4 separate regions of the Homo sapiens genome follow, and all the other regions are linked to region 4. The links are contacts of gene promoters, found by promoter capture Hi-C in blood cells and fetal thymus (Javierre and others, 2016). All regions are on one chromosome and are shown on one strand. The core of a region is centred on a gene start or on the middle of the fragment in contact, and the rest is flanking DNA. Distances in the headings are between cores, read along the strand shown. Region 1 holds the start of SUGT1 (SGT1 assembly cochaperone of MIS12 kinetochore complex). Region 2 holds the start of VPS36 (vacuolar protein sorting 36 homolog). Region 3 has its middle 17 kb from the start of HNRNPA1L2. Region 4 holds the start of ALG5 (ALG5 dolichyl-phosphate beta-glucosyltransferase).

Evidence for each region. The method cuts DNA at HindIII sites, captures the fragments that hold promoters and counts their contacts. A CHiCAGO score of 5 or more calls a contact.
Region 1: a contact is called between the fragment with the promoter of SUGT1 here and the fragment with the promoter of ALG5 in region 4, in 1 of 17 cell types (activated CD4 T cells). The highest score is 12.0, in activated CD4 T cells.
Region 2: a contact is called between the fragment with the promoter of VPS36 here and the fragment with the promoter of ALG5 in region 4, in 1 of 17 cell types (non-activated CD4 T cells). The highest score is 8.5, in non-activated CD4 T cells.
Region 3: a fragment that was not itself captured here is called in contact with the fragment with the promoter of ALG5 in region 4 in 1 of 17 cell types (naive CD8 T cells); the score reaches 5.6 in naive CD8 T cells.

Annotation. Positions count from the first base shown.
Region 1 is chr13:52,651,430-52,654,558 of GRCh38, forward strand. It overlaps SUGT1 (SGT1 assembly cochaperone of MIS12 kinetochore complex), which reads left to right and starts at 1,407. Exons shown (of 13, transcript NM_006704.5): 1 at 1,407-1,529; 2 at 1,617-1,674. The coding sequence starts at 1,492. SUGT1-DT (SUGT1 divergent transcript) reads right to left here and starts at 878. Exons shown (of 1, transcript NR_170300.1): 1 at 1-878. RefSeq lists enhancers at 708-1,047, 1,157-1,658, 1,768-1,887 and a silencer at 1,138-1,407. The HindIII fragment of the contact is 4,517 bases long and covers 1-3,129 here.
Region 2 is chr13:52,448,693-52,452,040 of GRCh38, forward strand. VPS36 (vacuolar protein sorting 36 homolog) reads right to left here and starts at 1,942. Exons shown (of 14, transcript NM_016075.4): 1 at 1,807-1,942. The coding sequence starts at 1,902. RefSeq lists an enhancer at 1,528-2,108 and silencers at 1,629-2,088, 2,129-2,188. The HindIII fragment of the contact is 2,912 bases long and covers 1,323-3,348 here.
Region 3 is chr13:52,624,148-52,627,476 of GRCh38, forward strand. It overlaps a transcript of HNRNPA1L2 not described here. Among named protein-coding and RNA genes, the nearest start is that of HNRNPA1L2, 17 kb to the right of the region's middle. The HindIII fragment of the contact is 805 bases long and covers 1,571-2,375 here.
Region 4 is chr13:36,997,127-37,000,601 of GRCh38, forward strand. It overlaps ALG5 (ALG5 dolichyl-phosphate beta-glucosyltransferase), which reads right to left and starts at 2,214. Exons shown (of 10, transcript NM_013338.5): 1 at 2,109-2,214. The coding sequence starts at 2,174. RefSeq lists a silencer at 2,130-2,429 and enhancers at 2,890-2,939, 3,400-3,475. The HindIII fragment of the contact is 11,758 bases long and covers 1-3,475 here.

The DNA of each region.
Region 1 (3,129 bases), core at 157-2,656, about 16 Mb after region 4:
TTTTGATCACAGAAATTCCGAAAGAATCTACAGAGTATTACAAATAACAAGGGAACTTAGCAAGATGCTTGCATATAAGGTCAGTATGTTAAAATCAATATTGTTTATTCTTACGAGTAGAATATAAAAAAGTCAAAATGCCATTTAACATTGTATACAAAACACTAAATACTCAAGAATAAATCTAATGAAAGATATATATGATCTCTATACTGCAATCTATCCAAGCACAGCTGCATTAAAATATAGATATATGTGCAATCTACAAAATATTGCCAGGAGAAATTAAAGACCGCTTAAATAAATGGTGGGGGAAGAATGATATTCATGGATTGAAGGACTTGTTGTTAAGATACTAGTTTTCCCAAACAGATCTATAGATTCAATGCGAGCCCAATAAAAAATCCCCCCCCTTTTTAACAAGCTAATTCCAAAATTCACCTAGAAATACAAAGGCCGTAGAATAAGCCAAAACAATCTTGGGAGAATAAGTTACAGGACTTAAAGATTTATTATAAAACTACATTAAATTAACATAGTTTGGTACTGGTATAAAGTTAGACAAAGACTACTCCCTCCCGCTCCTCAATCTGCCCCCATCCCTAGAACGTGCTGGCAGCTTTCTCCATCCGATCTGCAAGGGTTAAAGGGCGCTGAGGAAGGGCTGACCGACTGGGGTGGGAAACAAAGCGGCACTGAGATAACTTCAGGCCACCTTCCTCCCCTCAGTACCTTCGGATGAAAGGTTTCCCTTCTTGGTCTGGGAAGCCCACTAAGAAGAAAGCCTGGGCTGTGGCGTTCTGGGGAAGTGAATAGTACGGCCGCCGGGCGCGTCGCCCCAGGAACCAGAAGGCTTTTTGCCGCTATTAGTGCAGAATGACTTCCGGCAAGTCCCAGTCGTTTAGAATCCCCAGCCCAAAGATCGCGGGGATCCACGCGTCATCCGGGCCTCTGCTCCCGGAAGAGACCACGCAGCCGCTAAAGACGTAATGGAGGCGAAAGGGCTTGGCTAGCTGTGGCAGCCATGATAAAAACTAGGGAAAATGGGAGCTCGAAGTAGCTTCCGTTATTAACAGACATACAAACGCCCCTAACCGCCACACGTTCCTTAGGGATGACAGTACGTTACAAAAGTGCTTCTAAAGTACTACTGAAAGCTCCGTGGGAGTGCCCGCTGGCGTGGGCGCGGTGGAAGGGAGGAAGAACGTGTACGCCCCAGGCCTCCGTAACCATGGCTGCGAGGGGCGGGGACTGGGAGCGCGGGTCCTGGGCCGGGGTGCGGCTGGGAGGAATCGGTCCTCCACTGTCCCAGCCGGCCCCGCGCCGGCGTGTCGCCTCCCGTCCCCCTAGCAGCACGCTGCGTGGCTGCTCGCTGGCTATTTAGGACGGAAGCTCGGTTGGTGTTTCTCCAGAAGTTTCCCCCTTGGGCGGTGGTGGAGGTGGTAACCGTGATAGTAGCAGCTCCGGCGGCAGCAACAGCGACTACGAGGGATGGCGGCGGCTGCAGCAGGAACTGCAACATCCCAGAGGTGCATGTTTTTCTTTCCCTTTGGTATTTATTTTATCCCCCTTTCCTTGGCTAGTGAGCCCTGCTGAAGTCGTTGTTTTCCTGACAGGTTTTTCCAGAGCTTCTCGGATGCCCTAATCGACGAGGACCCCCAGGCGGCGTTAGAGGTGAGAGAGCCCATTTCTGCTTCCTCCACTCTTCTTAGGGGAGCTGGGCCACTTCGGGTCCCCGCTGACCCGCCTTCTCCCCGCACCGCCGGACAGGGACCCAGGCTCTTGTTGATGCTGCGTCTCAGCTCCGGTATTGAGATTCTCCGTCTCTTTTCTCTGTTACACGGTAGCCGCGTTACCCCAGACTCCTGTCTTGCCCTTTCCACTCCCTACAGCTCCTGAGAAAAACCTCCTCTATTTCTTGGGAGCATGGTTGGCATTTGTAGTTTGGCTGAAAGGATTTTTTTTTTAATGACATTTATGATTAGAGAAGTGGACTCTGGGCTCGATGAAGTTAATTTTTTCGTTTGACAATAATTCTTGCCATTCTTACGTAAAAGTGTCGGTATGAAGTCAGTCTACTGGAGCAAAACCCTTTTCCCTCACGTCCCTGAAACTTTCCAGATGTCTTATCACAATTCATTATTCACTCATTTGTATATTCATCAAAATTTTTTTTTGGAGTGGCTGTGTGCAAAGGCGCTGATTGCTGTGGGTTAAAGTCTTGGTTATATACTCAGCTAACCTAGAAATCACTTTTTGTAGGTGTGCAATGAAGGCAAACCATAAAGCTGTAAAGGAATGTAAAAGATCAAGAGTTAAATAATAAGAATTAAAGGAGAACCTAAAGATAAATGATGCTGCGGGTCACAGAATTTAGCCAGGAGTTTTTGTTTGTTTTTGCGTTAAATCACAGAAAAGAGGAAACCTGTTTTGCTGTTACGTTTAACAATTTGAGGCAAGACAGCGTCTTTTCTAGCTATGACTTTTATAAGAAATGTGCCACATGGTACTAGAGCCTCCGTTGAGGAGATCTTTGAGTGGAGATTTGAAGGAACAAGGGAATTAACTTGGAAGCTCTGGGGAAAGAATATTCCAGGCAGGACCAAGAGCCAGTGCAGATCTTGAGGTAGGAATGAAGTTGGCCTGTATGTGAAGCAACAAAAAGGCCCTTTTTATTAGAGGGCCCATTTGATTAAGAGAGGTTGGACAGGAAACTAGGAGCCAGGTCCTATAAGGCCTTTTAGGGTCCAGGTGTGTTTTTTACACCTAAATATATAGACCTTTAGATACTGGGAGTAAGGCTTCTGGGATGAGTTTGGGGATAATGTTACAGGAAGCACTGAGAATTTTTCTCCATAATTTCTTGTATTAGCTAGACAGCTATGACTTTTAATTTACATTTGTTATTGTCGTGTTAGACCTAGTGCTTCCTTTGGGAATCCAGTTTATATAAAAGTTGCTTTTAAACAGTATTAACATAATGAATTTTATTGTCACTTTCCATCTTCTTTTACTTTAAAAATTTTTATGGAGGCATATATGATTTATGTAAATAACACAGATTTTAAGTCTATAGTTTGATGAGTTTTCACATGTTTACACCACCAGATTAAGATACAGAGTATCTCC
Region 2 (3,348 bases), core at 692-3,191, about 15 Mb after region 4:
TGTTATTTTACACTGTTTTAAATCTATCACAGCTATACTGCCTGCCAGCAAAGGTGTTCCTAGTCTTCAAATTGGAGTTCCATAGAACAGTATCATGCCATGCTCTGCAAAAGCATGACTTCCTAGTGCTCCCTCAGGGAGTGGCACTGGAGGAGTCTCTGAGGACAGATCTAACACTGTCAACATTCGGTTCCTCTCAAAGGGGAGGCAAAATCAAAACACCGAGGAAGGGGAGGTGGATTAACCTTCCCATTTTAAATAGTCACAAAGATGTAAATTGGTAAGAAAGGAGAAAAAAATAGCTTGTCACTCCAATCCGGGGATGGAAGACTCATCTTGAGATCAAGATAGTTAAAGTGCCAAGGCAGGCTGGGCACAGTGGCTCAAGAGCCTGTAATCCCAGCTGTTTGGGAGGCCCAGGCGGGCGGATCATTTGAGGTCAGGAGTTAGAGACCAGCCTGGCCAATGTGGTGAAACCCCGTCTCTACTAAATATGCAAAAATTAGCCGGGCATGGTTGCAGGCGCCTGTAATCCCAGTTACTCAGGAGGCTGAGGCAGGATCTTGAATCTGGGAGGCGGAGGTTGCAGTGAGCCCAGATCGCGCCACTGCACTCCAGCCTGGCGATAGAGCGAGACTCTGTCTCAAAATAAATAAATTAATTAATTAAATTAAGAAGTGCTAAGGCAGTAAGTGAAGTTAGGTCCAAGCAAATTATTTAAGGAAAAGACCTTTACTCACTAATACAGGCAACACAGCCCATAGAAAATGCCCTAAGAGAGTCAGAGGACCTGGGTCCAATGTCACCTGTGCCTCTAAATAGCTGTAAGCACTTACCAGGAAAAGCTGAGTTGAGGAACTTATATCAAAGTACAGCGGAAAGTGTCGTTAATAAAACGGCAAGGGAAGAGAGGTAGCAAATTAAAACTTCTGGAAACCAAAAATGCTTGTGGGTAAATGAGTTTTAAAATTTTTCTAATTCCAGTTTATCCATTTCAATCCAGGACAAGATATTTCATAGTTTCAGTAAAGTATCTACAAAATATTTACTTACACTTCCTATTTCTCCTCTCGATTTGCAAACGCACCTTCTAAGATTTATGCTTGCACTACAAGGCACGGTCTACTATTAATATAACACTTTACAAAACACGCTCAGAACGCCTTTCTAAAGCAATTAGAAAACAAAACAAAAACCCAATAGCCTTTGGCAAGGGCATTCCAATGAAGCACTGATACCTCTTTAGGAAATCCTTTCGAAGCAATCCCTCACCCCTCTGCCCAGATATGCTAATCCCTCCGACTGCATAAGGTCCAAGCTAAAGCTTCCGCTGGGGCACGGACTGTACGGCCACCGCGCCCTCCTCACAGAAAGGCGAAACGGGGCTGTCCGGTGCCGACGCCGAGGTTGGTGTCGTCAGGGGGTCTGGAACCACGCCAAGGAAGTCGACTGCCGGATCGCCGCCCGGCGCCCGCAGACGGCGAGCGCTCCTTCTCCCGGGCACTGCAGCTGTGCGCTCCCGGAAGCATTCCGGGCGGAGGGAAGCGGCCGCGATCCGCGCCTGCTGGGAACCGTGCCAAAGTTGGGACCCGCGCTGGGGAGGCAGCCGAGCGCCCCACGCCACGTGCTACCGACCGGCGGGGAGCGCAAGAGCGCTGCACCCCGCACAGAGGCCTGCCGGGCCGCCGAGGGCCGTGAGCTAAGCCGGGGACCGGGCCGCGCCGACCCGGGCCGCGCTGAGCCGGGCCGCGCGCCCACCGGGGGTCCCTTCCGCCAGCCCGTTGGGAAGGTTGGCAGACGCCCTACCTTCTCCTCGCCATCGTAGATTCGCACCCCGCGCTGCTGGATCACCAGGGTCTCGTTGATCTCCAGGAGGCCGCTGGTCCAAACGAAGCGGTCCATGGCCGCTGCCACCCAGCCCCGGCCCTCCGAGGCCGCGAGCAGCGCGCCAGGCAGCCTGCGGCGCCCCCTAGCGTCGGACGGGACGGAAGCGAGTCGGGGCGGGTGAGGGACGGAGGGAGCGGCCTGGCAGCGAGCGGGCGCGGCTGCGAGGTGCGCCCGGGGACGTGGAGACGTGCGTGGAGCGCCCCCTGGCGGTCCATTAGCCGCCGGCCTTTCAGAACCCTTGATCAGCAGGCGGTCCACCCCATTCTAAATTCAGAGCTTACAGGGACGCGAGGGAGCCCCGACCACAGCTTGGACTTGCTTATTGTGCATTATGCCTGCATGTTTGTGGCAGTTTTCTTGTCAGTGCCCAGAATGTTGCTACATTCGCTAATGATTGTAAATAATCATAACCCCTCTCTTTCAAATGAATATTTATGGCACGCATTGTTTCTGTACAGCTGCAGTCAGTACTACCTGTGCTGCTCTTTTTTTCCCTTTAAGATTATATTGTAACACAAAGGATAAATGCTTGAGGTAACGGATACCTCATTTACCCTGATGTGATTATTATACAGTGTATGCCTGTATCAAAATATCCCATATACCCCAGAAATATATACACCTATGTACCCACACAAATTAATTTTTTTTTAACTGGGGGAAACAGATTTTATTTAACCGGGCTTGATGCGCGCGCCTGTATTCCCAGCTGCTTCCGAAGCTGAGGCGGGAGGATTGCTTGAACCCAGGAGTTTGACACCAGTGGGCGACATAGAAAGACCCTTTCCCCCTCCACCCCAACTCCCCCACGCCACTCCACTCCCCCACCCCCAGGCTCAGAAAAAAAAGATTATTTTTATTTAGGCATTTTCAATATTAATACAGACCTCATGCGTGAATTTACATTTCAATATGTAGTTCCTCTATAATTTAGCTGTTTGTTGGTCTGCGCAAAGCCATCCATGGCCGCTGCTCTCACCCACCAGGCGGCCTCGTGCCCCTAGCCATTTCATTTTTGTATTTTGCTTTATAAATGGAACACCTGGCCGGGCGCGGTGGCTCACGTTTGTAATCCCAGCACTTTGGGAGGACAAGGCGGGCGGATCACAAGTCAGGAGTTCGAGACCAGCCTGGCTAACATAGAGAAACCCTGTCTCTACTAAAAATACAAAAAATTAGCCCGGCGTGGTGGCGGGTGCCTGTAATCCCAGCTACTCGGGAAGCTGAGGCAAGAGAATCGCTTGAACCCTGGAGGTAGAGGTTGCAGTGAGCCGAGATCGCACCATTGCACTCCAGTCTGAGCGACAGAACGAGACTCTGCTTCAAAAATAATAATAATAAATAATAAATAAATAAATAAATGGAGCAGCTTATAGATGTCCTTCTACAATTGATACATATTTTTCTCTTTAGGATTATTTTCTTACAGTGTCTTCCTAAAATAGAATGACTGCTTTAAAG
Region 3 (3,329 bases), core at 723-3,222, about 16 Mb after region 4:
TCTGTCACCCAGGCTGGAGTGCAGTGGCGCGGTCTTGGCTCACTGCTATCTCCACCTCCTGGGTTCAAGCAGTTCTCTGCCTCAGCCTCCCGAGTAGCTGGGATTACAGGTGCCTGCCACCATGCCTGGCAAATTTTTGTATTTTTAGTAGAGATGGGGTTTCACCATGTTGGCCAGGCTGGTCTTGAACTCCTGACTTTGTGATCCACCCTCCTCGGCCTCCCCAAGTGCTGGGATTACAGGCACGCCACCGTGCCTGGCCAGTTGTATTTTCTTTTTAATGACCTAGCCTTGTAATAAGATTGGACATTACCATGTTTACCCTCTTCCACATTGATTTTCCTAGGATATTTGTTTTTACCACAACCACTTCTGAGACACCGTCTTAACAAGGATAATGTCATTGATAGGAATGGAGTAATATACATTTGGCCCTCTGTATGCGTAGGTTCTGCATCCACAGATAACTTCTGATAACGTTTTTTAAGAAACACAGAAAAAAATACCAATTAAAAAATACAGTATAACAACTACTTATGTAGCATTTGTTATATTAGGTATTACAAGTAATCTAGAGATGATTTAAAAGTATTCTCGAGGGGCCTGGAGCAGTGGCTCATGCCTGTAATCCCAGCACTTTGGGAGGCCAAGGTGGGCAGATCACTTGAGGTTAGGAGCTGAGACCTACCTGATCGACATGGTGAAACCCTGTGTCTATCACAAAAATACAAAAATTAGCCGGGTGTGGTGGCATGGGACTGTAATCGCAGTTACTCGGGAGGCTGAGGTGGGAGAATCCCTTGAACCCGGGAGGTGGACAATGCAGTGAGCCGAGATTGTGCCAGTGCACTCCAGCATGGGCAACAGAGTGAGACCCTATCTCAAAATAAAAAAAAAAGTTATGAAGGGGAAAAGTATGTATTCATGAAATAGTTTTAATTACAGGATTGAATAGATTGTTAAAAGATACTTTTTTTTTTTTTGAGATGGAGTCTTGCTGTTTTTTGCCCAGGCTGGAGTGCAGTGGTGTGATCTCGGCTTACTGCAACCTCCGCCTTCTAGGTTGAAGCGATTCTCCTTCCTCAGCCTCCTGAGTAGCTGGGATTACAGGTGCACTCCACAATGCCTGGCTAATTTTTTTGGTTTTAGTAGAGATGGGGTTTCACCATGTTGACCAGGCTGGCCTCGAACTCCTGACCTCAGGTGATCCACCTGCCTCGGCCTCCTAAAGTGCTGGGATTACTGCCATGAGCCACCACGAAGCCCTGAAAGATACTTTAACAAGTTCTCATTACATTGTTAAAATCTATGAAGAAAGATCCTTGTATGTAAAAATTATCTTGTTCAATGACACAGGCTCCCTACAATTTTTATTAATTAGAACTTTATAAATTATAAAGCCAGAGACTATAACTATGAAGGAAATTATTGTTATGAAATGCATGATTCTGAAAAATGAATATTCACCTATGTTCTGTGCCTACTCTGATCAAATACATATATTAAAATTTGAAAATGAAGTTTACAAGTGGTTTATGAAAGAAATAACAATGATGTGGAATACGGTTAAAGCTTTATTCACAGATAACAGTTCTGAAAGTACATTTCATTTTAACTATTATATTTCCTTTTTTCTTTTTCTTTTTTTGAGACAGGGTGTTGCTCTGTGGCCCATTCTGGAGTGTGGTGGAACAATCATCACTCACTGCAGCCTCAACCTCCCAGGCTCAAGTGATCCTTCCACTCAACCTCTCAAGTAGCTGGGACTGTAGGCATGTGCCACCACTCCTGGCTAATTTTTTTTTTTCTTTTTGTGGAGATGGGGTTTTGCCATCTTGCCCAGGCTGGTCTTGAACTCTTGAGCTCAAGCGATCCTCCCTCCTTGGCCTCCCAGAGTGCTGGAATTACAGGCATGAGCCACCATGCTGAACCCCTTTTTTCATTCTTCTATTTTTCTTCCATTCCTATCAGATTTTAGATCTTCCATATATATCTCAATTAAGTCCTTAAAATCTTTCTCCAAGAACTTTAGGAATTTGGGAGCTTTAATTTGAATATTAGGTAATAGATCATAATACAGAAAGCCAGGCATAATAAAATATTAATTTGGGTCCCACTTATTGAGATGGCAGTTCTCAGTGAGTTTAAAAATGTCGCAAATAGCCAGGTATGGTGACAGATGCCTGTAGTCCAAGCTACTCAGGAAGATGATGTGGGAGGATTGCTTGAACCCAGGACTTCGAGGCCAGACTTCACGACATACTGAGATCCCATCTCTTAAAAAAAAAAAAAAAAAAGGAAACAATGTTGTATACAGTTTACTTTCTTTTCATAATAGGATGTTTTTATATTAACTTGCTCTAATTTATTTAGGAAGCTTTTAAAAGCTTTTTCTTATGAAAAATTTAAAATATACGCAAAGTACGCAAAATGGTACAGTGAACCCCTTTATACTGTCACCCAGCTTCAACAATGATCAACATTTTACTATTCTTGTATTATATATACCTTCACCCAGTTTTCATCTCCTACTTGATAATGATTGATGGCTTTTTTTTTTCAGGTAAAATTTACATACATTAAAGTGTACAAATCTTAGCTGGAGGATTTTGACAAATGGATAAGCCCATGTGACCCACACACTTAACCAAGACACTGTGTTTCCCATTTTCACCTTCCCAGTTAGTAGCCTTCTGTCCTGAGGCAATTGTTGTCTTGATTGTTTTTTCACCTCAGATTAGTTTTGCCTGTTCTGGCACTTGACAGCAATGGAATCATACAGAATATATTCTGTGTCCAACTTCTTTCACTTGCTCTAATATCTGTGAGAATCATTCATGTTGGCATGAGCTGAGTACTCTTCCATTGTTTGGATATCTGACAATTTGTTTTTTCATTCTAACAACAGACCTTAGGTTGGTTCCAGTTTGGGGCTATTATGAGTAAAGCTTCTGTGAACAGGTTAAGCTGCCTTAATATTTGCTTGCAATATATATTGTTTTTGAAATACAATAGCATCTAATTGAAAATTCCACTAATTTATAATTTTTGAGGCTGATCCCTCATCCCTCCACCTTAATATATTGTTCTGAATTAGCATTTCAAAGTTTATATAAAACTGGTACCTAATAGTTGAGAATTCCTGCTTTTGTCAGATATTGAATTGAATGATACTTTTTTGATCAACAGAAAATTTTCCCCCCAAAATCATTTTGCTTTTCACTAAACTACTGGCATAATAAGCAATCTCTCTTTTTTCTTTCTCATTTGGTTTTCATTTTCTTTTTCAGAAATGAGCCCCTGAGTCCTGAGTTGGTGGCAGCTGCATC
Region 4 (3,475 bases), core at 964-3,463:
TCAAAGAAATCCAAATTGTGAGAAGTTCTACAGGACAAATGATCATATTAAAGACAAGGAAAAAGGCCGGGCGCGGTGGCTCATGTCTGTAATCCCAGAAGTTTGGGAGGCCGAGGAGGGTGGATCACCTGAGTTCAGGAGTTCGAGACCAGCCTGGCCAACATGGCGAAACCCCATCTCTATTAAAAGTACAAAAATTAACCGGGAGTGGTGGTAGGCGCCTGTAATCCCAGCTACTCAGGAGGCTGAGGCAGGAGAATTGCTTGAGGGCAGAGGTTGCAGTGAGCCAAGATCACACCACTGCACTCCAGCCTGGGTGACAAGAGCCAGACTCCGTCTCAAAAAAAAAAAAAAAAAAAAAAGACAAGGAAAAGAAAAAAAGGGGGAGGAGAAACTGTCAACTGATTAAGAGACTCAAGACATCAACAGAGTACAATGTGTGGCACTTGTTTGGATCCTGATTGGAACAAACAGACATATATACTGAGACATATATGAGACAAGTGAGGGCAAGTGAACTGAGGGGGCATTTGAAATCACAGAATAAATTTAAATCTGTGACCACTTTATTGTGGTATTTTAAAAAGAAGGACCTTATCTGTTAGAAATAAATGCTGAGGATTTAAAGATAAAATGTCTTCGAGTTGTTTTAAAATAATTCAGAAAGGAGGTGAGACTGTGAGTAATGGAGAGTGGATACATATGAAGACAGGATGAGGTTTTGAAAAATTATTTTTTTAATGATTTCTTGCTCTGGCATTTAAAAAACCTAAGTTTCACTAGTTGTGCAACATTTGAGTACACGAGCTCATTTCTCCAACATGTTTCCTCACCAGTAAAATAATGCTAATGATAACATATATGTCACAGTGTTAAAGATTTAATAACTCCTATTAAACCAAGTGCAACACAACATATAGTAAGTACTACAATCAATAAATGGTAGCTCTTATCACTTCAAGCTAGTGGGAACAAATACCGTCAGTACAATCCCATAAAATCTGTGCAAAAGACCCAAAGTAAGGCAGCTTCAATCTAAGAATGTGTGAATCCACTCCCCGCCCGCACCCCGCCAAAAATCAATCAATCAATCAATCAATCCTGGTTTGCTCAAAAACTTGAAAAAACAAAAAAGCCCTAAACCCTGAAATCTCTACTAGTTAGGGCAAGAGAGGACTCCTCTCTCACCCAGATACTATCAACAAAGAAGTAAGGATGCATTACATTTTATCTAAACTGTAAATTTATACAACCTCTGGAAAGATGGCAGAGTGGCCTTCCTGGCAGTGCTGTCTAGGTGGCTAATCTGAATGTCAAGGAAGCTGAAATCCTCTCCACTTACTAACTAGAGGGCAGGCTCATTCCAAGGTGTGCGGGAGAGAGTTCGCCAATTTTCTACCACTTAACAATCAGCAAGTGTTTACAATGTTTTTGTGTTTCGAGAGCAAGGGCAAAGACAATCGAGTTTGCATTCTATCGTCCTGCCTTGTTTAGGGGCAGTATATTTAGGGTGCTTAATTCTGGGACACAATGCGACCCCGGACAAGGCGCCTGAGGCCTGTCTCTCTCGCTCACCCTGCGTCCCTAGTGGGTCTCATCGATCCACGCATTTATTCCCATTTGTAACAGATGGCTGCCGTCAAGGCTCCGTCACCCCTATTTGCTTAACCACATCAGCCAAGGGAGCAGGCTAGGGAGCACACCCCTTCTGGGGGCTCGAGACCTCCCTGGGTGGAGCAGAACTGCAGCGGCTGCAGGTCCCGGAGAGTCTGGGAGAGGTCGAGGTTGACAGAGGAGGTGGGTAGGGGGCGCGGGCGCCAGGGGCGATGGAAGCGGCGATGATGCCAGGCCGGGTGGGTGCGCTCCAGTGTGAAAAAACTTACAAGTCTCTGAGCACACAAAGAGATAAGATTCCAAGGGAAAATTAAAGAACCGAAGAAAAGGAGAGTGAAACTCCAGGAAACTCCGAGGTCAGGAATTTGGGGGAATCTAGGGGAAAAGGGACTTCTCCGAGAACTGGTAGCGCGGAGGAGGGGACGCCTGAGGAGCCGCAGTCTCCAGGAGAGCGGTAAGCCCCGGCCTGCGCGGGTTCCCATCCCTGTTCTCACCAGTACGAGGGCTGCGGCCGCCAGCGCCGCGCCGAGCACCGCCAGCTGCAACAGAAGCGGAGCCATTCTCCATGCCGTGGCAGCCCGCCCAATCCCGCACCTCCACACAGGCGGAAGCGCGCCCGCGCGACCCGGCCCCGCCGCCAGAGAGGTCGCGCCCGCTGGCCGCAGCGCCCCCGCGTGGCGAGGCGGAGAAAACGCCGCTCTCGTGCCCTCGGCGCCCAGTCGGTGGAGAGGAGCGCTAGGTTCCACAGCGGGGCGCCAGGTTTATCAAGTATGCAAGACGTCTACTTAATTTGAATTTCAGATTAAAAAACTAATCATGTTTTTAACAGCCTTATTAAGATAGCCACATACCATACGACTCATCCAGTTACAGGTTTCTGGTTTATTACATTAGTTTTTATAAACTGTGGTAAAATAAAAAGTTGCCATTTTAATCATTTTAAGTTTACAATAGTGAGTGGCATTAATTACATACATACTGTGCAACCATCACCACTATCTATCTGTAAAGCCTTCCCAGCTCCCTCCAGGTTCTGGCAACAACTAATTGCATGCTCTATTTGGGGCATACTCATGCTTTAAAAAAAAAAAAACCCACAAAAAAACAAAAACAAAAAACAAAAAAACCACGCTGTGTTTATCAGACATTCAAATTTAACGTGGTATCCTGTATTTTATCTGGTAACCCCACCTAGGAGGGAGATGGCAGCCTTGAGCACGACACAGTCTACAACACAAGGTGATGCTTAGGAGCCCTCAGCTCCGGGACCTGCAGAGCAGAACGTGGTGCGGACAATGAGCGCACAGAAAGTTCAGGTTTCTCGGCCGAGCGCCGTGGCTCACGCCTGTAATCCCAGCACTTTGGGAGGACGAGGCGGGCGGATCACAAGGTCAGGAGATCGAGACCATCCTGGCTAACACGGTGAAACCCCGTCTGTACTAAAAATACAAAAAATTAGCGGGGCGCGGTGGCGGGCGTCTGTAGTTCCAGCTACTCGGGAGGCTGAGGCAGGAGAATGGCGTGAACCCGGGAGGCGGAGCTTGCAGTGAGCCGAGATCGCGCCACTGCACTCCAGCCTGGACGACAGAGCGAGACTCTGTCTCAAAAAAAAAAAAAAAAAAAGTTCAGGTTTCTCATGTGTTGGAGCACGGAGCCCTTGACCAGTGAAGAGGCAAGGCCAGGGCTGAGCCTAAGTCACAGGCAGAAAAAAGACGCAGAAACATTGGAATAACGCTCCACACGCACTGCTTGATTCTGCGCTAGAAACCCTGTTATCTCCGAACTGTTGGTGTTATTCTGAGTCACAGCACCAGCTCTTTTATAAAGAGGGAGACCCGCTCCTTCTTTAACAGCAGATTCG